5 separate regions of the Homo sapiens genome follow, and all the other regions are linked to region 4. The links are contacts of gene promoters, found by promoter capture Hi-C in blood cells and fetal thymus (Javierre and others, 2016). All regions are on one chromosome and are shown on one strand. Each heading gives the region's core, a stretch centred on a gene start or on the middle of the fragment in contact. The rest is flanking DNA. Distances are from core to core; before and after follow the strand shown.

What was found. Contacts are between HindIII fragments. The CHiCAGO score rates a contact against its expected background, and 5 or more counts as called.
Region 1: a contact is called between a fragment that was not itself captured here and the fragment with the promoter of CABLES1 in region 4, in 6 of 17 cell types (megakaryocytes, total B cells, naive B cells and 3 more). The highest score is 10.5, in megakaryocytes.
Region 2: a fragment that was not itself captured here is called in contact with the fragment with the promoter of CABLES1 in region 4 in 3 of 17 cell types (naive B cells, total B cells and megakaryocytes); the score reaches 5.5 in naive B cells.
Region 3: a fragment that was not itself captured here is called in contact with the fragment with the promoter of CABLES1 in region 4 in 1 of 17 cell types (neutrophils); the score reaches 5.1 in neutrophils.
Region 5: a fragment that was not itself captured here is called in contact with the fragment with the promoter of CABLES1 in region 4 in 1 of 17 cell types (megakaryocytes); the score reaches 6.4 in megakaryocytes.

What each region holds. Positions count from the first base shown.
Region 1 is chr18:22,797,912-22,802,714 of GRCh38, forward strand. The region is part of intron 2 of RBBP8-AS1 (RBBP8 antisense RNA 1); the gene reads right to left. LOC124904263 (a long non-coding RNA gene) reads left to right here and starts at 319. Exons shown (of 2, transcript XR_007066308.1): 1 at 319-576. The HindIII fragment of the contact is 1,500 bases long and covers 520-2,019 here.
Region 2 is chr18:22,814,408-22,819,102 of GRCh38, forward strand. The region is part of intron 2 of RBBP8-AS1 (RBBP8 antisense RNA 1); the gene reads right to left. The region is part of intron 1 of LOC124904263 (a long non-coding RNA gene); the gene reads left to right. Among named protein-coding and RNA genes, the nearest start is that of RBBP8, 120 kb to the right of the region's middle. The HindIII fragment of the contact is 7,819 bases long and covers 1-4,695 here.
Region 3 is chr18:23,597,742-23,602,882 of GRCh38, forward strand. It overlaps ANKRD29 (ankyrin repeat domain 29), which reads right to left. Exons shown (of 10, transcript NM_173505.4): 10 at 1,185-3,568. The coding sequence ends at 3,485. Among named protein-coding and RNA genes, the nearest start is that of NPC1, 14 kb to the left of the region's middle. The HindIII fragment of the contact is 3,850 bases long and covers 1-3,450 here.
Region 4 is chr18:23,132,659-23,137,326 of GRCh38, forward strand. It overlaps CABLES1 (Cdk5 and Abl enzyme substrate 1), which reads left to right and starts at 2,827. Exons shown (of 10, transcript NM_001100619.3): 1 at 2,827-3,949. The coding sequence starts at 3,105. RefSeq lists silencers at 1,626-1,715, 1,726-1,835, 2,596-2,675, 2,796-3,005, 3,136-3,345 and 3 more and an enhancer at 2,026-2,175. The HindIII fragment of the contact is 5,609 bases long and covers 1-4,668 here.
Region 5 is chr18:23,484,093-23,488,883 of GRCh38, forward strand. No RefSeq gene overlaps it. Among named protein-coding and RNA genes, the nearest start is that of RMC1, 17 kb to the right of the region's middle. RefSeq lists an enhancer at 4,151-4,320. The HindIII fragment of the contact is 1,612 bases long and covers 1,269-2,880 here.

The DNA.
Region 1 (4,803 bases), core at 20-2,519, 340 kb before region 4:
TTTTTTTTTTTTTTTTTTTTGAGACGGAGTCTCGCTCTGTCGCCCAGGCTGGAGTGCAGTAGCGCGATCTCGGCTCACTGCAAGCTCCGCCTCCCGGGTTCACGCCATTCTCCTGCCTCAGCCTCCGGAGTAGCTAGGACTACAGGAGCCCGCCCACCATGCCCGGCTAATTTTCGTATTTTTAGTAGAGACAGGGTTTCACCGTGTTAGCCAGGATGGTGTCGATCTCCTGACCTCCTGATCCGCCTGCCCAAAGTGCTGGGATTACAGGTGTGAGCCACCGCCCCTGGCCTTTTTTTTTTTTTTTTTTTTTTTTTGAGACAGAGTCTTGCTCAGTCGCGCAGGTTGAAGTGCAATGGCGAGATCTCGGCTCACTGCAACCTCCGCCCCCCAAGTTCAAACGGTTCCCCTTTTGAAGAGAGCAATTCAGAGGGCCATTAACTATATAAGCACAAGAAAAGTCCAAAGATCCTGGAGCTACCTAGGGAACAGAGCTCCAAAGAAAGCCTCCTGCGTGGAAGCTTCCCTGAGGAAGAGCTGATAACACCTTAAACCTCCTCTGGATTCAAGTTAAAGGTGAGAGGGAAATTTTCCAGTGGAATCCTGCCCAGCAGTTAATTACAAATGGCAAATTTTAAATCATCTCTGCTTTGGTGTTCTGTGTTAGAATGGAAATGGAGATGGACAAACTGTTTACTTCTTTCATTTACTTTGTAGCGCTGGGGTGAGGGGACTCTAGGCTGTTTTGTTTCAAGGAATTGTTTAAACTTTTTATTAAATTTTATTTTAATCAAGACGGAGTCTCGGTCTGTCACACAGGCTGGAGTGCAGTGGCGCTAGCTCGGCTCACTGCAACCTCCGCCTTCTGGGTTCAAGCGATTCTCCTGCCTCCCGGGTTCAAGTGATTCTCCTGCCTCAGCCTCCCGAGTAGCTGGGATTACAGGCGCTCAACACCATGCCCAGCTAATTTTTGTATTTTTAGTAGAGGTAGGGTTTCGCCATTTTGGCCAGGCTGGTCTGGAACTCCTGGCCTCAAATGAGCCTACTGCCTTGGGCTCCCAAAGTGGTGAGATTACAAGCGTGAACCACTGCATCCAGCTCAGATTTTCAAAGTGAGGGTAAATTCTAGGAAATAAAACAGAAGATTATAGAGGTGAATAATTTAAGAATTTTAATTAATGCATAGAAAATAATAGTGCATAGTGCTGGTGTCTTAGAATATGTTTACTATTCTTTGAATATTTATTTCTGAAATTCGTCCCTTCATTTGACAGAGCTGTATGTGGATTACTACAAATGTCCACCAGAGGGAGACTCAAGACTGAGTTTTCCCCTTGGGGTTCCTTCAGGTTTAATTAGTACTTGGGCCAAAATCTCTACCACATGTTGTTATAGGGAGGCAATCCAAGACGGCGAAGAGATTTATGGTTCTGGAATGAGATAAAAGGATAAATAAAGGGATGGTTCTATCCTTAAACATCCCTGCTTTTTCTCTGGGGCTTGGGTCACTTTCTCTTACTGATCCTCTGAGGTTTGCAAAACTGAGTTATTTGTCTGCTTTTGAAAGCAAAGCCCTTAGGATTCCTGGCACTATCCACGCTGAAAAAAACCGTAGGAATACTCCCACCCACTAGCAAAGAAATGTGTCATTCAACTCACAGGAGGCATTTACTAAATTCAGGAGATCCCTCCAGGGATTATAATGTTCTGCCAGAGCCAAAGGCAATCTAGTCCCAAGCCATACCATGGAATTTGGTAGAGGATGGTTTTAGTCTTCCCTGAAGTCTTCATTTGTTAGTTCATTCAACAAAGAGGAAGACTTTATTAAGAGGCAGGTATTGTTTCACTTTTTAAAAGATATCTCTAATTATAGGAAAAATCTAATAATGAAATGAATTTATCATTAACATGCAAAAGCTGTTCTAAAACAGATTTCTGAATAGAACATGTTGTTGGTATAGTTTACATTTGAGATTTTAGGAAACACTTTTATATCACCTATTATGTGCAAAGGGGAAAAGCTTTTTGACAAACAGATATTAACATAGAAGTACAACTATGAGGCACTGCTGTGATTTTCCTTTTCAGAGTTTTGTTTTTTAATAAATCAGACATAGATGGTTGCACAATTACTTTCTATTCATGATCACCTAATTTCCCACATTAAGCCCTGAAACCAAATCTTGAAAATGAAAATAAAATTAGACTGCAACCTGCCACCCACTAGGGAACAAACACCTCTACATGCCTTGGCTACAAATTTAACAATAAAAAAAGACTTTAAATCCCACTTTAATATCTAGGACTTGGGGGTCTGGGGTCAGGTAAAAGCAGGGTAATAGCAAAGGAGTGATTTTTCCCTTACTTCTAGGTTAAGCAGGCTGGTTGTACGGGGAAGCAGTGACTGGTAAAGAGTTAAAGCTCACAGAGTTAACTCACTGGTTAAGAGTTAAAGCTGGTTAAGAGTACCAGCTCACAGATTTGCAGTGAGAAAGAACCCAAGCTCTTAGCATCCTTTTCCTTGGGCTCTAAATCAGTTGTGGGAAACAGTGAAAGGTAACATACAGGACAGGATTTTTTTAGCGAGATCACCTTCAGCCATGGTTTCTGATGCAAAATGTTCTCCCGCCAGCACCCAAGACCATAGATGCTGTGGCGGTGGTGGCAGCAAACACTGGGCATGCTTGGACGGGCAGCCACAGGGTTGCCACGGTCTCGGCAGGGTCTAGTAGACAGAGGTCTTGTGATATCTGCTGGGAGTCATGGGAACAAGTGGGAATTTATCTTTGGTTCCAGAGAACATAAAATGACCCATTTCTTCCAGTTGCGCAATAAAAGAGAAACTTAAGAAGGAAAAATGAACCAGTATAAAATGTAAACTTAGCTGTGTCTGTTTTGGTCCTAGAGGAGCAAAGGTGATTGGATTGACTGCAGAGACTATGACACCTCGCCATTTCCTCTTGTCCATAAACAGACACAGAATTGCAAGAACTTTTACGGCCAAAGGTTAATCATAGAAAGGGATTGGTTTCCATCTCCAAGAAACAAATCCGTACCAGAAATCTGATGACATGTTCCTGGATGGACCATAAAAACCATTTTCCTAAATAACATCAGCTGACTCTCTGGATTCTATCTTTGGGACTATCCTCAAATTCATTAGGGAAATCATTATATTGAATCAGTTTAATTTTACCAGGGTATCACACCATTTGCAAAGCTATGTCATACAATCACATAGTCAGTATGGATGAAAATACTATTAATTAGAGATAAGCATTTGTCCAAGAACTTGCTGTAATAGGATCTTGTGGGGATTTATCAAATCTTGTGAGGATTTATCGTAGTCCTTTGCCAATCAGAAACACAAAATAGATTTAGATGTAAAAATGGAGTTCTCCATCTTACAGGAATAGGTCCTTGTGACTTTTTCTTTCTAAGAAAAAAAATGAGCTCATTTCATTATTCTCACCCTCCTCTCCTGTTTAAAGAAATCTGATCTGGTAGGAAATAACAAGCAATGAGCCTTAAATTTTAGTATTATCTTTTTAAGAGTTTCTTAAAATTGCCTTTTGAAAGTAGTTCAGGCTTAGGCCCAAAAATAATTATACTTAGGTCATAAAAACAGAATTTCTAATATGCAAAATTCTTTTAGAAAATCTTTTAAAACATAATAACCATGTAAACCTTACTCTCCATTTCTTTATGAAGAATGGAAATTAAACATGATAAAATAATCTAATTTTGGCCAGGCACAATGGTGTTTGCCTGTAATCCCAGTGCTTTGGGAGGCTAATGTGGGAGGATCACTTGAGCCCAGGAGTTCAAGACAGCCTGGGCAACACAGCAAGACCCTGTCTCTACAAAATATTTAAAAATTAGCCTGGCATGCTGGTGCATGCCTGTAATCCCAGCTACTCAGGAGGCTGAGGCAGGAGGACTGCTTGAGCCTAGGAGTTCAAGGTTACAGTGAGCTATGATAGTGCCACTGCACTCATGCCTGGGCAACAGTATGGCCCTATCTCTTAAAAAAAAAAAATCGAATTTCTTCACAATCAACTTTTGAATGACTTCTTAAATGACAAAATAGGCTGGGTGCAACGGCTCATGCCTTAATCCCAACACTTTGGGAAGCTGAGGCAGGAGAATTGCTTGAGGATAGGAGTTTGAGAGCAGCCTGGGCAACAGAGGAAGACCCCATCTCTACAAAAAATACAGAAATTAGCCAGGTTTGGTGGTGCATGCCTGTAGTCCCAGCTACTTGGGAGGCTGAGGTGGGAGGATCACTTGAGCCCAGGAGGTCAAGGCTACAGTGAGTCATGATCTTGCACTCCAGCCTGGGTGACAGAACGAGACCTTGTATCAAAAAAAATTAAAATAAAATAAGTGACAAAATATATTTATCTTATAGCTTAATATATTTGTGTTTCCTAATGGAAAAGTTGTAAGATAAAGTCCCACAGGAATGAATTCTAGAACGGCTCTATAATTATAATTTATGTAAACTACACACTTGTATATTATAGCTTTACAAATCATGTTACACTCTAGTAAAACTAATCTAATAAAGTAATTTCCTCAGTGTGCCCCCAGACAAAGCTCAGAGAAACATGTGGCTTAGCCAAAGGTAGGTATGTGGTAGATCCCAGCCCAGAATGCAAGTGTCCTAATCCAGTGCTCTTTTTTGGCCATCATGATGTTCCTACTCTCTGCTAGATTAGCTCTTGCCATCTCACCATGTTCCTGAAGCCCTCCTCTAAGTGTTGAGCCTCTGGACCTCCCTAGTCTGGGTTCTCTGACATA
Region 2 (4,695 bases), core at 1,405-3,904, 320 kb before region 4:
GTAATCCAGGGCCAATATGAAACATAAAGGAAGATTTATATGAATCATACTTCCTCTGCATTGTATTACAGGAGAAATATAGTTCTAATTTGTAAACGTTCAAAGCATTTCTGACCCTTAAATAACTCCGATTTATAAAAGTAAACACACAAGCCAGCTTTTACTGTCTTTGTCTTTTATGAGTGCCGATGCATTAGGCAGCATTCTTGCAATGCCACACCAATGTGCCCCTACCAAGTAAGGTCAAAATAATAACTGTTCCAATTCTTTTTGTTGTTTTTTTTATAGAGATGGAGGTCTCACCATGTTGCCCAGGCTGGTCTCCAGCTCCTGGGCTCAAGTAATCCTCTCACCTCAGCCTCCCAAAGTGCTGGGATTATAGGCATGAGCCATCACACCCAGCAACTGTTCCGATTCTCAATGACACCTCTGTCTAGTGGAAATCCCACACCAGGTCTTTAGTTCTCCATTATATAAGTCATGAAACTGTCTTTATGAATGGCTGCACCTGGAAGTTTGATGCCTGAAGGTTTTTTTATGTAAACTGGATTATATTTAAGTAAAGATATCCACCCCATAGCTGCAAAGGACTGTCATCAGTGAAAGGAGAAGTTAAAAAAAAATAGAAAAAAATATATATATAGGTAGATATAAATTATTGGTAATATTTTAGTTCTCGAATGAGTAGCATCCATTATATTCTAAAAGCATAAATAAGCAAATAAAATAAGAAGGCCATTCATGAAACAATGACAATAATATTTTATGAAGCAAGGACTATAATTAATCCAATTCTATGTACTTAAATAAATAAACAGAATAAGTCAAAGGTAGCATAACATTCCACATCCATGTGACCCAATGCCTAAACATCTGCCTGTAACTACTCAACTCAGTCCTGGGAAATAACGTGGGCAAAAATAATTCAGAATCAGGATGTCTGGTTCTCCCACATTGGTGGGAACTTGAGTGAGGAACAGTCACGCTGATAATCTTTTTTTTTTTTTTTTTTTTTTGATACAGAGTCTCGCTCTGTTGCCAGGCTGGAGTGCAGTGGTGCAATCTCGGCTCACTGCAACCTCTGCTTCCCAGGTTCAAGTGATCTTCCTGCCTCAACCTCCTGAGTAGCTGGGACTACAGGCACGTGCCACCACGCCCATCTGTATTTTTAGTAGAGACGGGATTTCACCATGTTGGCCAGGATGGTCTCGATCTCTTGACCTCGTGATCTGCCCGCCTTGGCCTCCCAAAGTGCTAGGATTACAGGCATGAGCCACTGCGCCCGGCTGCATGCTGATAATCTTACAAGGCTTCAGGTCAGAGTAAGGGGACAGGTGCCTCCTTCCTGAGGAATGAAAATGTGCAAGGATCAGAAGAAACATCAGAAGTCATGTCCTGGTGTTATGGGATCTTTGGGGTGTCAATTTTCTGGCCAGAAACCTCTGTGGCCACAGCACCTTTGCCCAAGCTCTTGTCCTGAATCCAGGAAGAATGAAGTATGCAGACAAGTGAAGGGTGAACAAGACAAAAATGAGCTTTACTGAGTGTTACAACAGCTCAGAGGAGACCTGCAGTGGGTAGCTCCTCTCTGTAGGCAGGTCATCTATGGAGTTTTCAGTTCTCAGCAGAGAGGTGGCCCTGGAGAGGATAGCTCCTCTCTGCAACTGGTCATCCTGATGTCTGCAGCTCTGCAGCTCTCCCCCAGAGAGGAGGCCCTGGAGATGACGGCTCCTCTCTGCCAGCAAGTCGTCTCTGCAGCTCTCAGCAGAGAGGATAACTCCTCTCTGCAACTGGTCATCCCATCATCTGCAGCTATCAGCAGAGAGAATAGCTCCTCTCTACAGCTGGTCGTCCCATCCTCTCTTTCTCTCCCCTCTTTGTTCCTCTGGCCATCCTCTGCCCTGCTCTGGCTGAGCCCAGGGCTTTTATGGACCTCAGAGGGGAGGAAGTGTGTGCCTATTGGTCCATGGGCAGCCATGGGTGGTCCAGAAGAGGCACCACGAGTCCCCACTCCCATCCACAGGACTGGCAGCCCAGATCCAAGCCTTCAGGCCCTTCCCAGCCTGAAGGTGGGGCCTTAATGCGGGCTGCCCCCTTCCACCCAGGACTCTGCCTCTCGCTGCCATTCAAGGCCCAGGGCTCGGCCCCAACCCCACTCAGATATCCCAGCAGACACTGGGAAAGGAGAAGGGAGGGTTTTTCCTGGGGCCCCCAAGGTACAGGCTGCAGGGATGCCAGGGTCCTCCTGCGCCTAGGAGAGCGGGAGCTCCAGCCCCATCAACTCGGAAATGGGCTGGGCTCCTGCTTGTCCCGGCTCCTGCTCCATGAAACAGGAGGCCCAGGTCTGCAGCCTCGGGTCTGGCTGCTGCAGCTGCACCCAGGAGGGCAGATCCTGCCTGTTTCCGGCCCCCACCCAAGATCACTGGGAGGCTCCGATCCATAGCTGCAGTTTGGGTGGCTATAGCCCCACCCAGGAGGGCAGGTCTTCTGCCTGCTCCATAGAGCAGGAGGCCTGGGTCTGCAGCCACAATTCGGGCAGGGGCAGCGGCACCGAGGGAGCTCCCACCCCAACTCAGAAAGGGCGTGGCTCCCACCCGCTCCATGGAGTGTGCAGCCCCAGCTGCTCCTCCCTGCTGCAGCCGACGTGATGGCAGCAGCCACTGCCATCACTGGAAGAATGCCAAGTTCAAAGTCTGGAGCTTCTACAGCAGCACCTTAAGCAAGAGAGTTATACAAAGGTCAGTGATCCCAGTATGAGGTCAGGAGAGTAAAGAACAGATATAAGGCATCCTCCCTGCAAGAGACCCTCTACAGCCAGACCCTAGGAGTATAATGGCAAAAACTTGGGACTAAAGGTAAGCTATAGAGAGACATGGCTCAGAAGATGAGAAAAAGCATTCTCTAGCTTTGCTCAAGGTTCACAAGCAAACATTTTCTGTATCAATCCTTGATGTTAAAGGCCTTCTTAAAACAAAAGAGCATACTTTAGTTCTTTCAGTAAGTACAGTGTGATAATACAATCTAATACCTTTGATTCATTATTGGGAGCATTCATCTATTTATTCAGCCAACATTTACCTATTCTGTTCTTGGGACTGTGTTATGCATCAGTGTCAGTGTAAGGAAAATAGAATGGAGCCACAGAAGTTAAACAACATTGGACCTTATTTGTTGTTATCCTCCAAATGGGCTCTGAATGTGACTTTAATATCTCTGATAAGAGCCTTTCCTAGGGACATTTTCCTAGTAACAATTTTAAGTGTTTAAGATAATGTACATTAAAGTGTCTGGCCAGACATGTGGTAACATGTGGCTCTAGCTTGTGATCCCAGCACTTGGGGAGGCCAAGGCAGGAGGACTGCTTGAGACCAGGAGTTTGAGACCAGCCTGGACAACAAGTGAGATCCTGACTCTAACAACAAAAGCAACAACAACAAATGTCTACTGATTTGGCAGTCCTGGTTAATTTAGGATCTATTACATTTCCTGTACTGTACTTGTCCCAAATGTAAAAGCCTAAAAACTCCTACCTTCATTACACTGACTTCTTGCCAGCAGGGCACCCGACCCCCCTTCCCAAGACTCTAGAATGCTACAGATGCTAATAATAATGCCTTGAAGTCCAAAACAAACACATTAGCAAGGTCCTGGAAGTGTGCAATGAAAGCTACTAGGGACTTTCCATCCTGTCAAGCAAATTCATCATAGCCCAGTCAGTTATCAGGTTAAGCATAATTCTTTGATGAGCTTGTTAAAGGAAAATAAGTAAATTGGAGGCTATTCAAAGTCAGGGGCTGTGTTCTCAACTTCTTTGTAATTCCCCACAGTAAACTAGTATAATGCTTGGTTGACAGTTATTCCTCAATTAACAATTAGCTTTTGTTGATTTATCCCTTTTATTTTTCAAGCATAGAATAAGGGATAATGGGAGTTATATGAACAACAGGATATTCTTGACACACTTTCCTAGAACATCAAATTCACTCAAAGATTTGGAGACATAAGACATTTTTTTTTTAAAGTACAATGCAAGAATCTAAATGAATTTTTAAAATATGAAACAAAGACAATCCACACTTATGGCTGGGTATCTGAAGACATACCTTCAGGCCCCAGGTGATGATTGTCACTTTTTCTCTTTAGTGGAAAAATCTGCAGCAGACTGCTTGATGCCTGGTCACACACACACACACACACACACACACACAGAATTTGCCTCCCCCTCCACCCAAAAAGCATATATTTAAACCTACAAATTCTACTTTTAGGAACTTACCATAATAAATAAGAATGCAAACACAAACGATAGCAGCTGTTCACCTATAATTACTTTTATAGTAAAAAATGTTGAACATTGTAAATGTCGCTCATTTAGAGAATGGTAAAACAAATTATGGGAATGCCATCTAATGAAATTCTATTTAAAATAATGGTGCAGATCTACATTTATTAACATTAAAAGATGTCCACAATATGCTAAATGAGCAAATTTAAAAATAAATAAGATCTCAATTTGTTTTAAAATAATGTTTAAAAGATATGTGTATGTGTAACCATGTATACACATATTCAGAAAAAAGTCTGTAAGGCTATGTAACAAAACAATAACTCTTTCTGAGGGCTAGACCTACAGGTGATTTTTTCTTTTTTGTACTTTTCTATAAACATAATTTCTTACATGAACATAAGGTAATT
Region 3 (5,141 bases), core at 276-2,775, 460 kb after region 4:
AAGCAAAAGTAAAATTCCCAAGATTGGAGGACAGCACCAAGACACCACTACAAGGTAGACTGTCTTTCAAAGCCAGTTACCTCAACTGTAAGATGGGGATGGTAATAGTGTTTATTTCATAGGGTTGTTGTCAGGTGTAAATGAAAAAAATGCGTAACACTTTATAAGATTATCTATCTAAAGTGCTTAGCACGTAACAATCCTTTAACAAATTTTAGTTGCTGCTTTTATTTTTATTGATTTACTTATTTTGAGACAGGGTCTCACTCTATCACCCAGGCTGGAGTGTACCATTGCAGCCTCAACCTCCTGGACTCAAGCCATCCTCCCACCTCAGTCTCCCAAGTAGCTGGGACTGCAGGTGTGAACCACCACCATGTCCGGCTAATTTTTTTATTTTTAGAGAGATGGGCGTCTCACTATGTTGCCTAGGCTGGTCTTGATCTCCTGAACTCAAGTGATCCACCTCGCCTTGGCCTCCGAAAGTGCTGGGTTTACAGGCGTGAGCCACCGGGACTCCTCACCTGGCCACTACCTCTGAAACATCCAGTTCTAGCACCAAAAGCACTTTGTTAGGAAATTAGGAACTCAGCTTCTCACCCCTATAATCTGTAGCCCCCCACCAAAATACAGGCATCTCTGCCTGGTTCTAAGTAGCCTGGTATTTGGGGGCACTCTTTTCCTCTGAGTAGGTGTCTCAGTGTGGGATTTATGAAGAGACGTAGCTTTCTTGTGGCGGCAGAGGGTGGATGGAGCAGATGGAAGCCAGGATGTTCCTGTAAATCTCCATATTCCTGATGTTACTGCTGCAAATTATTGTCTCCTACACCAACAGTTCTGCAAAACCACCAGCTACTTCACAAGAGAAAGTTATTGCAAAGGACTAAAGGGCCAGGAGCATCATAAATAATACAAATCAGAAAATTTTCTATTTTCAGCATCTTAAATAACTGTCCCAAGAATTCTTTTCTGAATGAAAACTTTTTGGAATCATTTCATTCTCTACAGCAGAGATAATGAAATCATAGGTCCATTACTAAAATAAAGTTTAAATATCTATTTAGGGTCCCAAATATCAATATATTTACAGAGTTGAATTATTCACCCTAAAATTCCATGCTACTAAAAATCACATAGCAATAACTCTTGATTAAAAACAAAAAGAAAAAAGCAGCAAAGGCAAATGGGGTAGTATATTAACTTTATTTTGAATTATTATATAACATGGAATATGTCATCAAAGAATGAATTAATGAAAAACGTTTGTAGTTCAGTTAAGCAGATGATTTGCATAGGAATTGCTAGTTTTAAGTCTTAGGATGCGGAGCTAACTGAATTGTCAATTAGATTAACATAGAATAATCATTTACATGTGTGCAAACTAAAATGCAATTTTGAAAATAACACACCTTTCCGTACAGTCTTTGGTAGGTGATGATTCATTTTCCCTGCTATGGGTAATCTCATCTAGATCAAATGTGATCCTTCTAAGCTAGACACCTCTTCCCTACAGTAAGAAGGCCTCCATATTGTTCAAGCTACTGGCTTCAATTTTATGGCTCTAATATTGTTCAAGAACATTACCCACTTAAAACTATTGATGTAATAGGCCAATTACATGTTTTAGTGAAAAACAGTAAGTTTGTGATTCATCCCATTTTGGCTTTTGGAACTTTGTTATCAGTACCCATAACGTTTTGCTTTGTATCAGTGATTAGCAACTATTTTTGCCATAAGGGCTAACTAAGGGGAAAATACAAAGCATTTAATGCCATATTATTTTCCTCTTCAAAATGAATATAGCTTTTTGAAATTCGCACAGGAGAAAATGTATATTTGTACAAATTTGCTGAATAAAAGAATGTCAATGAGGAAATGGCATTGATTTTAGCCACCAAAATGTTTATATCTGGATGTTTTAGCAACAGAGAGCTTTCTAATATTTTATCCTAGAATCAGGTTGCAGGCTTTTTGTATAGCTGGTCAGGCTGTAGGCACCTGTGGGGCCTGTGAGTTGCTCATTTGCTTGAGACATTTATCAAAATATGCTGATTTTTGTTGCATTAATTGTTATAAATTTTAAGAGAATATCTTCTAATTTTGAAGATTATATTCTATTATTTACTGAATTAAAGATAATCCTTTTAGTAACTCTGAAAGTTGGTTAAACAAAAATTCTTTTGGGATTACAACATTTTCCTCTAAAAGTGTCTTTACATAGACACTGACTGAAAACCAGAGCAGAACATGAAGAAATAAGCTAAAGATGTGTTTAAATAGCAGAAATACCATTGCGTTTATTTTGGTAGATTACAGAAAGAAGGTTTTATTTTTGTATGTGCAGTTAGGCACTGACTGAGGCATTTAGACACCATTAATTATAAAGTGCATTGAATATAAGTTTTGATCCCTTTCAAAGGAATAATTCAATAAACCTCATATTTCATTCTTGGAATCAGTCAACTCAAAAACATGCATAGATGAAGACTTACTAAGTGCTAATAACAGTCTTTTATTATTTATATTCCTGCAATAGTAATAGCAACATACTGTACTTGCATATATCACATTTTATCCAAGGACCTCAAAGTCATTCTATCAAGCAGCACGGTGTTGGAAACTCAAGATTCCACAGCATGTTAGGTATACTTACTTATAGAATAGGAAATAGATTCCCAACAATAGAGCCAAAATAAAAGACCAAAGAGACAAGCCTATATATTTCTCGTGGTTTATAAGTTTCTGAATTTCCAAATTTGCCACTGGTATTTTAACCTACCTACAATGTTGACTCTACGTAAAATTGATTTTTACATGTCAGGAATAAGATGAGGATCAACGAACAAATGCACAGTCTGTCTTTTCTATAGTTCAATAGTCCATCTTTGAATAGCACATAATGGAATGTCAGAAGTGGTTTTTTAATAATGTATGTTTACACTTCATTGATTTATAACAATCATGGCTATGGTTCTTGGGTAGAGGAGAATGTTTTATACTGGAATGACATACATATGTAGGTAAAATATGATAGATCTATATATTTTAGCACATCTACATTTAACACAAAAGCAAAAGTGCCTCAATCCATTGAAGGTCAGCTTTTCAGTCTTTTAAAGGAACAAAGCATTCTGTCTCCTTGCTTAGTACTGAGAACCCTGTCCACCTTAGAGTTTAACTGACAGGTCCAAGTTAGCATTGTTGAAAATGAGTTTCTGTGGAATCTGTGAACATGCCAGGCCCCCCGGGAGATGAGTTACAGGACACCATGAGAAGTCCATGGTGAAGGGGCAAGAGGGTCCCTGAGCTGTTTGGTTCTTGACTTCGTGCACAGAGCGTAGCTCTTCTTTGTCAGGGACCCACAGGATGGGCATTCTGGGCATCTTTTTTTTTCATAAAAGAATTTCCAACACTGCTTGAAATGCAATTTCTTTTTGGACAATGTGGTTAAGCTTTCTATCTTTCTGTCAAATATGGAGCTAAGTTAGCTCTTTCTGGGACCTTCTTTACTTCTCAGGAGACGCAATATACGTTCATTTTTGGTTAGTTCTGCCGGAAGTTCATTGGCCTGAAAGAAGAGAAGATGGGCATTAGTGAATCCCCATAGCTGGTGTGGTTTTAGGGACTCCAAAGAGGGGCATTTGACCCACTCTTTCTCCTTCACTAATGAAAAAAATCCACACTGGACTCACTCTTTTATATAAAGGTATTACAAATCTTCTTTAAATGTATAAATATTACTTGTTATATCCTTATCTCATTCTTAGAGACATTTTCCAGCCAGATCCCTTACTAGACTGTAATCTCTTAGGGGGAAGGGTCCAGATCTAATTAATCATTGTATCCTTATCTCCAGCACAATGCCCAGCATGTCTAAAATGTGCTCAATAAGTACCGGTCAAATTAAATGTTATACCTTATATGTATTTTATTATTATTATTTTTTGAGACAGGGTCTTGCTCTGTCACCCAGGCTGGAGTGCAGTGTTGCAATCATGGCTCACTGCAGCGTTGACCTCCCCAGCTCAAATGATCCTCCCACCTCAGCCTCCCGAGTAGCTGGGACCACAGATGTGCACCACTATGCTCGGCTAATTTCCAGAGATGGGGTTTGCCATGTTGCCCCAGCTGGTCTTGAACTCCTCGGTTTAAGTGATCCTTCTGCCTCAGCTTCCAAAGTGTTGGGATTACAGGCATCAGCCACCGTGCCCAGCCTACCTTATATTTATTAATGTATGACATGAGGTAGTCTGCCCACTAAGGACTTGGGACTGAGTCAGGACTCAGCACAGGTGTCTTTTTTTTTGTTTTTTGAGATGGAGTCTCACTTTGTCACCCAGGCTGGAGTGCAGTGGTGTGACCTCGGCTCACTGCAATCTCTGCCTCCTGGGTTCAAGCAATTCTCCTGCCTCAGCCTCCCGAGTGGCTGGGACTACAGGCATGTGCCACCATGCTCGGCTGAATTTTGTATTTTTAGTAGAGATGGGGTTTCGCCATTTAGCCAGGCTGGTCTTGAACTCCTGACCTCAAGTGATCCGCCCGCCTCCGCCTCCCAAGGTGCTGGGATTACAGGTGTGAGCCACCGCGCCCGGGCCAGATATCTTTTGATGAGAAGGCAGAGATAGGAAACCTCCAGAGCATAAGAGACACCCGGGAAAGAAGAGCATTGGTGGCTAACACCTTCCACCTTACTCAGTATCACTCGAAGGCCTTTCTTTTCACATTGCTGCTGAGATACATCCATTAGGCATCTAGTGAACCAGTCCCTACCATTGACAACAGGTGTGATGTGGAAGTGGCTCTCAAACCTGTTGGTTTCAGGACCCTTTATACTCTCAAAAATTACTGAAGAGTCTAACAAATTTTGTTTTTAACTTATTAAAAATGAAAGCTGAGGGCTATGCGCAGTGGCTCACACCTGTAATGCTAGCACTTTGAGAGGCTGAGGTGAGAGGACCACTTGAGCTCAGGAGTTGGAGACCAGCCTGGGCAACATAGTGAAACCTCATCTCTATTATTTAGAAAGAAAATATTTTCAAAAAGAAAAAAAAAAGAAATTAAAACTGAGAAAATTTTAAAAATATATTTATTAATTCACTAAAAATAATAAATCCAAGTTAATATAGTTATGAAAAATTAAA
Region 4 (4,668 bases), core at 1,577-4,076:
ATCACAAGAGACAAAACAGCCTGGCTGGGCGTAGTGGCTCATGCCTGTAATCCCAGCACTTTGGGGGGCCGAGACGGGCGGATCACGAGGTCAGGAGATTGAGACCATCCTGGCTAACACGGTGAAACCCCGTCTCTACTAAAAATACAAAAAAATTGGCGGGGCGTGGTGGCGGGCGCCTGTAGTCCCAGCTACTCGGGGGGGGCTGAGGCAGGAGACTGGCATGAACCCGGGAGGCGGAGCTTGCAGCCTGGGTCAGACAGCAGGACTCCGTCTCAAAAAAACAAAACAAAACAAAACAAAACAAAACAGCCGATTTCACTTTTGTTTAAAAACACACCCAAGGCCAGGTATGACAGCTCATACGTGTAATCCCAGTGCTTTGGGAGGCCACCATGGGAGGACTGCTTGAGGCTGGAAGTTCCAGACCGGCCCGGGCAACATAGTGAGACTTCATCTCTACAAAAAAATTTTTTCTTTTTCTTTTCTTTTTTTTTTTTTTTTTTGAGATGGTGTCTTGCTCTGTCACCCAGGCTGGAGTGCAGTGGCACGATCTCGGCTCACTGCAACCTCCGCCTCCTGGGTTCAAGCCGTTCTCCTGCCCTCCTGCCTCAGCCTCCCCAGTAGCTGGGATTACAGGCACGTACCACCATGCCCAGCTAATTTTTGTATTTTTAGTAGAGACAGGGTTTCACCATGTTGGCCAGGCTGGTCTCGAACTCCTGACCTCGTGATCTGCCTGCCTCGGCCTCCTAAAGTGCTGGGATTACAGGCTTTAGCCACCGTGCCAGGCCAAATTTTTTTAAAAAAATTAGCCAGGTGTGGTGGGTGCCGGTAGTCCCAGCTATTCGCGAGGCTGAGGCAGAGAGAATCGCTTGAGCTCAGGAGTCTGCAGTGAGCTATGATCACACCAGTGCACTCCAGCCTGGGTGACAGGCTAAAAGAATATATATACATATCTCTCTATAAAATATATGAAAATACAAAACAGAAATCAAAATTTAAGTTTTACGTTATTTCCACAGAAGATATTGTTAGTGATACCCCCTTTTTTTTTGCTCCTCTTTGCTTATCTTATGTTCTGAAATTAACATTTATCATTTTTGAATGATGGAAAATATATTTTACAGGAGCACCGTTGGAGTCTTTCACTTAACACTGCCTCCCAACCAGGCCAGTGGTCATGTAAATTAAGTCAATTGTCATAAAAGGGCTTGGAAGTTTCAAGGTAGTTAGCCAAAATAATTAAAATCCTGGTGAAATTTCACAGAGCTGGCCATTGAGCTTTGACTCCACTGACATGAGGCTGCTGTAAACAGACACCAGGCTCCATGTTTTCAAAAGGCCTAAAAACAGCACAAAATAAAATATAACAACGATTGTTCATGTAAAGGGCCACGTGCCATCTCTGTCCTGAGCAAATGTAACCTGAAACCCTCTCTGTCTGGCACTCCGGGTTGGCGGCACCTCTCTGGACGGTGTATTTGCTCTCCATTACTCAATTTACTTTCCTGAACTTGAAATGGAGTGGAATTTCAATGTAGAGTTACCCATTAGCTCCAGGGCTAAATTTAAACCTTTAATTAAATTAATCCGTTGATCTGAAACACATTGCTTCTCCCTCAAAAGTGCAGCAGGTTTCTTAGGTGTCACAGAGCTTAATTCAGTGTGGCAATTGTTCCTTACTGCATTTGTTAAGTTGCCCATACCGCCTGGGGAAACCCGCACACGTTTTCAGATCCCTCCAGGTGAACTCCTCCACCCTGTCCCCGCCCCCGCCCCCACCCCCAACCAAAACAAGCATTCGTTGTGGGTGGGGACTGCGACTCCTCCCAGATTCAGAGCTACTGCTCTGGGAGGGCCGTCAGGAACCCGTATTTATAGAAGACATGGTAGGTGCCAAACGTGCTTATGAGATAAACGACAGGGTAACTGTCCACATTGGTCCCAGTTTATGAGGGAGAAGAGATCATAATCTACAAAAATTTGCAAGGTGACCAGGGGAAAAGAGTGTAAGGTCATTTTAGCCCACCTGGGTCTTCACAGAAAATGGAGCACATTTCAGAGCCAAAGTAAAAAATTTGCGTTGTCCTTTGCTAAGAGAGAGATGAAAAGTGACAATACCATGGATTGGGGATGCGTGAGTTCGTTGGCCACATGTAAGATGTTCGTGCTTCTGGGCTCTTATGCATCCCAAGGCGTGCATTTATCCCGGGGGCTGCATCCTTGGCCTGGGAATGAATAGACCCAACTGCAATGGTTGTTAGCGATAGCTTTACGGTGGGACAGTCTCCATAGGGGCTGTGGACTTACCCGTGTTATTATGAAAAGGATCTATTTACTTCTCGGGGACCAACGGCCTTGCGGGGTCCAAGTAACTCGCTCGCAGTCCAAAACTCTGCAACGCTCCACATAACCGTCCTGTAGACCCACAACTCTCCCAGGAGCACAGCCCCAGGACCTAACCCACCGGGTTCTGCTCGCTCACCCAATTCCCAGTGCGAGCGCGCGGGGGAAACGTGCTCGCCTCCCGCACCTGGCTTCCGCGGCCCCGGGAGTCGCCAACTCTCCCAGCAGGCAGCTCCGACAACCCGGACAGCCGGGCCGATCCCCCGCCCCACCACCCGCTCGGCTCTCGCGTCCTCCTCTTCCTCCTCCCGTGGCCCCTTGCCTCCCGCCGTCTGCCTCTGCGGCCGCCGCCTGCGGCTTTGTTTTCCTCCCAGGTCGCATTCCCCACACGTGATTCCGTGTTATTGCAAAGAGGGCTTTGGAGCGCGAGCGCGGGGCGCGCGCACCTATAAATACGGACACCCGGCCCCGGAGCCCGCGAGCCAGCGGCCAGGCGACCGGCGGGCGGCCAGCCAGCGAGCCGAACTAGCCGAGCTAGGTAGCGAGGCGTGCGCGTGGGCCGGGGCGGCGGCGCCCCCATCCCCAGCACCGAGGGGCGAGCATGGCCCGCCCGCGGGGGGGCTGGACCGCCGCGCACGCCGCCCGATCCCCGCGCCCTACCCAGCCCGGGTCGCCGCCGCTCGCGCCCGCCGCTTAGCGCTCGGGCGCCGCTCGCTTCTCCGGGCATCGCGGAAATCCCGCCGCAGACGGACACAATGGCGGCGGCGGCGGCGGCCGCCACCACGGCCGCCTGCAGCAGCGGCAGCGCCGGCACCGACGCCGCGGGCGCCAGCGGATTGCAGCAGCCGCCGCCGCAGCCCCAGCCTCAGCCCGCGGCCGCCGCGCCGGCCCAGCCGCCGCCCGAACCCCCCCGGAAGCCGCGCATGGACCCGCGGCGCCGCCAGGCTGCCCTCTCCTTCCTCACCAACATCTCGCTGGACGGCCGGCTGCCGCCGCAGGACGCGGAGTGGGGCGGTGGCGAGGAGGGCGGCGCGGCCAAGCCGGGCGCCGGCGGCGCCTGCGGCGCGAGGACTCGGTTCAGCTTGCTCGCCGCTGCCGAGCGGGGCGGCTGCATCGCGCTCGCCGCGCCGGGCACGCCGGCTGCGGGGTTAGCCGCTGGGTCCGGCCCCTGCCTCCCACAGCCCTCGTCGCTGCCGCCCTTGATTCCTGGCGGCCATGCGACCGTGTCCGGCCCCGGGGTGGCGCGGGGGTTCGCGAGTCCCCTGGGCGCCGGCCGGGCGTCGGGGGAGCAGTGGCAGCCGCCCCGGCCGGCGCCTCTCGCCGCCTGTGCCCAACTGCAGCTGCTCGACGGGTCCGGGGCCGCCGGGCAGGAGGAGTTGGAGGAGGACGATGCCTTTATCAGCGTGCAGGTGCCGGCGGCCGCCTTTTTGGGCTCCGGGACCCCCGGGAGTGGGAGCGGCAGTCGGGGACGCCTCAACTCGTTCACTCAGGGAATCCTGCCCATCGCCTTCTCCAGGCCGACTTCGCAGAACTACTGCTCCCTGGAGCAGCCAGGCCAGGGCGGCAGCACCAGCGCCTTCGAGCAGCTGCAGAGGTCCCGGTGAGTATCCGGGATGCGACGCGCACCCAACCCTGCGTCCCGCCCGGCGCTCCCAGCCTCCCCGCGGTCTCTGGGCTACGGGACACGGGTTGCTCCCATTTTCCCGCGCCCTGCCGGATCCTGTGCTCCGGGCCCGAATCCCAAACCACGAGGGCACCCAAAAGAGGGGGCGTCCCCAGGGAGTGCGGGGTTACACGTGTTTGCACGAGCCCAGCATTCGCAGAGGAGCACCGCGCTTGTGCAGTGGGTCGGGAATTGGGAGTTGCAGGAGCCCAGTAGAAAGCGGCGTCCGAGCCTCCCCACACGAGATCACAAACTTCCTGAAACCCGGTCCAGACCCGGAGGCGCACTCTTCCCCGCGTGGGGCGAGACTCGGCCGGGCGCAGAGTGGAGCAGTGCAGGCCGGCAGCTGAGCGGCGCGTGTGAGCCTGAACTTGTAGCAGACACGCGTGACCCTCCGGAGAAGTTCTTGCCTGCGCTCCAAGTCTTCTTGCGGCCCGGGGAAACTTGGCTTTTTCCATTTGCTTTCCTGAGCAATGGAAAGTCCTTCTTACATTGCCTCCAACTAGGCCTAGGGGGGTGGGGAACAAAGAGGAAATAGGGCTTGAGGGATTTTTTTCCTATTCCAAGATGAATTTGCTTGAGTTCGTTAAACGCTTGTTTTACTTGTTTGTTAGCTGAAGTTATCTGGCGGCATTAGGCGTCTTAGCAAAAACATG
Region 5 (4,791 bases), core at 825-3,324, 350 kb after region 4:
AGAATCACTTGAACCCAGGAGGCAGAGGAGCTGAGATGGTGCCACTGCACTCCAGCCTGGGCAACAGAGCAAGACTCTGTCTCAGAAAAAAAAGTAAAAGTCCTTCATATTCCAAAGACCATTGTTTATAGTGTGGCATACATCCCTGCAATTTTTTTCCCCTCAGCATATGGTATTTCCTTTTTTAAAAAACCTTTGAACAAAAAGCAGGATGAAGCGAGGCAGCTGATGGGGAAATGTTGAGCACGGGAGACTCTAAGGAAGATGAAGACAATAGGCCCTAAGATGTGTTAGGAGTACATTTCTTACTGCTCATTTGGGCTCCGGGCATCAGAAGAGATTGTTTTCTGCACCTTTTGAAATTCCAAGCTCTATAGGAGCAGAGAAAAGCTCATCTGATTATATTTTCAAACCTTGATCCTTAGGTTTTTGAAGACAATATTTTTCTATTGGATTTTTGTCAGGATTACATAAAAATAAGTTATCAAAGTGTGTTTTATACTTGGAGACATCAGTTTACTAATTTGAAAGCCTCTTGTTTTTATTCTTTTCCGATTTGTTTCCAGTGTAAAAATAATACAAGGTTGCATTTGGAACAGCATTACTTTTACCATCCTAAGCTTTCCAACTTTCTCCCAGACTTGGCTAGCTTTTTGAGGAGTTAAGATCAAATTCGGTAGATAAGAAAGTGGCAGATGGAGGGGTGGGGAAGGTGGGGTATTCATTACAGAATACATGAGTGAGCTACTACAGATAGCTCTATAAACTTGAGGGAAAAAAATCTGCCACAGGTCTCGGCAGCTTGGGTGGTGGGAGGAGCGGCAGCAGCTGGTGAGCCCAGCTTCCAGAAGGCTCTGGTTTCGCCATTGCCCGTAGGCACCCGGCAGGCCCCCTCCCCACCACCAACATGCCCAGGAGGAAGGTCAGCTCAGTCAAGAGGGCTGTGAAGGAAAAGCCCAGGAGGAGATGGGCACAGTTGTCCCCTAACCCTGCTCCTGCAAAAGTAGAAACGAAGCCAAAAAAGAAGGCAGCAGGAAAGGACAAACCTTCAGACCTAAAAGTGCACACAAAAGGGAAAGGGGGAGCAAAGGGAAAACAGGCTGAAGCTTGAGTCCCTGCCCACCTCCATTCCTATCTTGTCTAGCATGTTTAATTGGCAATAAGTTTTTTTGACTCTAAGTCTCTTGGCCATAGGGGTCCCACTAGGGGACATGAAGGACCCAGGGCCTGTAGCATGCCACCCCAGCATCAATATGGGCCAGAATGAAAGCTTGGCCATCAACACTGCCTCTGGGATGCGTTGACAAAAAAAGAGAAAATATAAACTAAAAAAAAAAAAAAAAAAAAAAAATTAGAAGCCCCCAACAGAATGGATCTCTCTCTTGGCCAAAGGGAATCCAAACAACAACCGAAACAGCCTGAAAACCTAGTTCAGGTCATGACAGGAAGCTGGGAGTCAGTCACGCCTCGCCATACCTTCCCCCACTTTGGAATTCAGGCACAGCTGACCAAGCAAAAGGGCTTCACACCTTTGGAAAGGAAAACCTTTTGGCCGATTCCAAAGGGAATGCGTTAAGGCTGCTCTACTTTCTGTTACCTGGTTTTACCACTTTTAGGCCCATTAATGGTGATCTTATTGTTAGTATTTGGCCCATTGGGCCGAGCATGATGGCTCACACCTGTAATCCCAGCACTTTGGGAGGCTGAGGCGGGCAGATCATGAGGTCAAGAGATTGGGACCATCCTGGCCAATATGGTGAAACCCTGTCTCTACTAAAAATACAAAAATTGGCTGGGCATGGTGGCACGCGCCTGTAGTCCCAGGTACTCAGGAGGCTGAGGCAGGAGAATTGCTTGAACCTGGGAGGCGGAGGTTGCAGTGAGCCGAGATCACACCACTGCACTCCAGCCTGGTGACAGAGTGAGACTCTGTCTCAAAAAATAAATAAAATAATAATAATAAAAATATTTGGCCCATGCGTATTCAACTTCCTTATAAAGTTTATATCTTCTAGGTTACAGCAACTCCATGTAAAGATGATGGTGATGCAAGGATTTCAGCCAATTCCTGTCTCAGCATGGGACTCTCCTGCTAATGCAGCCTGGGATCCTTAGACCAGCAGCCAGAGATTTCCAATCCTTTGGTAGGCAGGGCCAGCGCCCTTAAATCAGCAAGAAGACGACACAGATGACTGACCTCCTCCCTCATCAACCCTTAAGAATAAGGGATGGAAATCTCTGAAGGGGGAATGAGATAGGAAGATCACTGGGTGCTCGCAAGAGGATGGAAGAATCCACACAAGAGCTTAAACAAGAGCTAGGCAAAGAAACTGTGGGATAACAGAAAACCCAAAATCAGGAGGAGAAGGCTGGGTTTGGTGGCTCATGACTGTAATCCCAGCACTGTGGGAGGCTGAGGAGGGCAGATCACCTGAGGTCAGGAGTTCGAGACCAGCCTGTGCAATATGGTGAAACCCCTTCTCTACCAAAAATACAAAAAAAAAAAAAAAAAAATAGCTGGGCATGGTGGCATACGCCTATAGTCCAGCTACTCGGGAGGATCACCTGAGCCCAGGAGACAAAGGTTGCAGTGAGCCGAGATCACGCCACTGCACTCCAGCCTTGGCAACAGAGACAGGGTGACATGTCCATGACTCTTCAGTGCAAACCCAAATCAGGGAGAAAGGGGGTGGTACCTGGGGGTGTGGGACAGTGGGGGGTCCCTGAAATCCCCCCTCTTCCAAAATACCTAATGATTATTTCACCCCCTAATTAAAGAAACACCCATAAAATTAGAAACCCAAACTCCCTCTGTGTGACTCATTCTCACAAACATGCCTGCACTTCTCTCTTCAGTGCATACTATCACTTTGCAATAAAAGCTTTTTGCCTTTCCCTTCATTCTGACTTGTCCCTGAATTCTTTCTCGAAAAGGTGTCAAGAACCTGGAAACCAACTGGGGCGGGGGTCTTACCAGCATCTGCAGACCCTCCTGAAACTTCTGGAAACCATAGGGGGAAAAAAGCAGAAATCACCCACAGTACAAGACAATCACCATATACATTACTCCTGACACTTGTTATATACATATGTACATGCAAATGCAAATGTAGAAAGAAACATGCATTCAGGCCCGGCACGGTGGCTCACGCCTGTAATACCAGCACTTTGGGAGGCCGAGGCGTGTGGATCACCTGAGGTCAAAAGTTCAAGCCCAGCCTGGCCAACATGGCAAAACCCCATCTCTACTAAAAATACAAAAATTAGCTGGGCATGGTGGCAGGCACCTGTAATCCCAGCTACTTGGGAGGCTGAGGCAGGAGAATCACTTGAACCCGGGGGGTGGAGGTTGCAGTGAGCCGAGATCGCACCACTGCACTCCAGTCTGGACCACAGAGGGAAATTCCGTCTCAAAAAAAAAAAAAAGAAAGAAAAAGAAAGAAAGAAAGAAAGAAAGAAAGAAAGAAAGAAAGAAAGAAAGAAAGAAAGAAAGAAAAGAGAGAAAGAAAGATGCATTCAAACATAAAACACTTCTGAAATGAAAAAGCAGGTTCCAAAACAGTGATACGTAGTCAAGATTTGCCAGCAAATACATACTTTAGAAATAGCTCTTTGTAAATATTATTCATCCTCATTTTAAAACAAAAAGGACTTTAGAAAGTTTAAAGAACAAAGTAAAAGCCACCTGAAAACATGCCAAGTAGTGAGAGCCACTATACAAATTTGGCTACATATGCCTTCAGACATCTGTCATAGAGTCTAACAAAGACTATAAAACAAAAATTAAAGCAAACAAAACTCAGCAAAACAGAAAAGCGGAACTTAAAATAAAAATAAGAATAAAAATAAACAGAAAAGCCTATGTGTTGTTTTAGGTTTTAGAAACTGTCAGACGCACATTTTAAGCTGCTGTAAAAGGAAAACAAGCATGTCAAGTGCTTATCTTAAACACCAGGAGTTATATTGAGCTTTTTTGGTGGCTCCGGAAACACTGGCTCATAGTAAACTAAGAAAGGAGAAGAAAAACAAACTAATGAACTAAGCGCTGATTCAGTAACCCCAGCAGTGGGCAGGGCAGCCAGGTATCCATCAAGGGTAGAGCTGGCTCGAGGCTGCACTTAAGGTTTCCCCCTATTTTAGTTGACCTGTTCCTAGGTCAGAGTCCCCTCCAGGGCCCCAGGACTGCCTCTAGCAGGCTCTGTACCCCAGATTTTACTGTCCCAGTCCTGAATCTGCCTTAAAAAAAGTTTTAACAGCTTTTCAGCTTCTTAGCTTTCCTTTTCTGCTCAGTGTCTCAACCTCTCAGTCACCGCTTTCAAAGCAGCAAGTTCATTGTGGAACAAAGCGGCAGCAAATGTCAGCTTCCGGCGGGCTGAAGTGGCTCATGCCTGTAATCCCAGCACTGTGAGAGGCCGAAGCGGGTGGATCACGAGGTCAGGAGTTCAAGACCAGCCTGGCCAACATGGTGAAACGCCGTCTCTACTAAAGATACAAAAAATTAGCCAGGTGTGGTGGCAGGCGCCTGTAATCCCAGCTACTTGGGAGGCTGAGGCAGGAGAATCACTTGAATCCAGGAGGCGGTGGTTGCAGTGAGTCAAGATGGCACCATTGTACTCCAGTCTGGGCGACAGGGCAAGACTCCATCTCAAAAAAAAAAAAGTGAGCCTCCCTTCTCCAGGCTTCCCTCTCTACAGAATCACGGCTTCTCAGGTTCTAGCTGCCTTGTTCTCCAATGTCTTCACAAAAGGTAAAAGAACTGCCTTCACAATTAATGAAAACGAAGATCTTAAT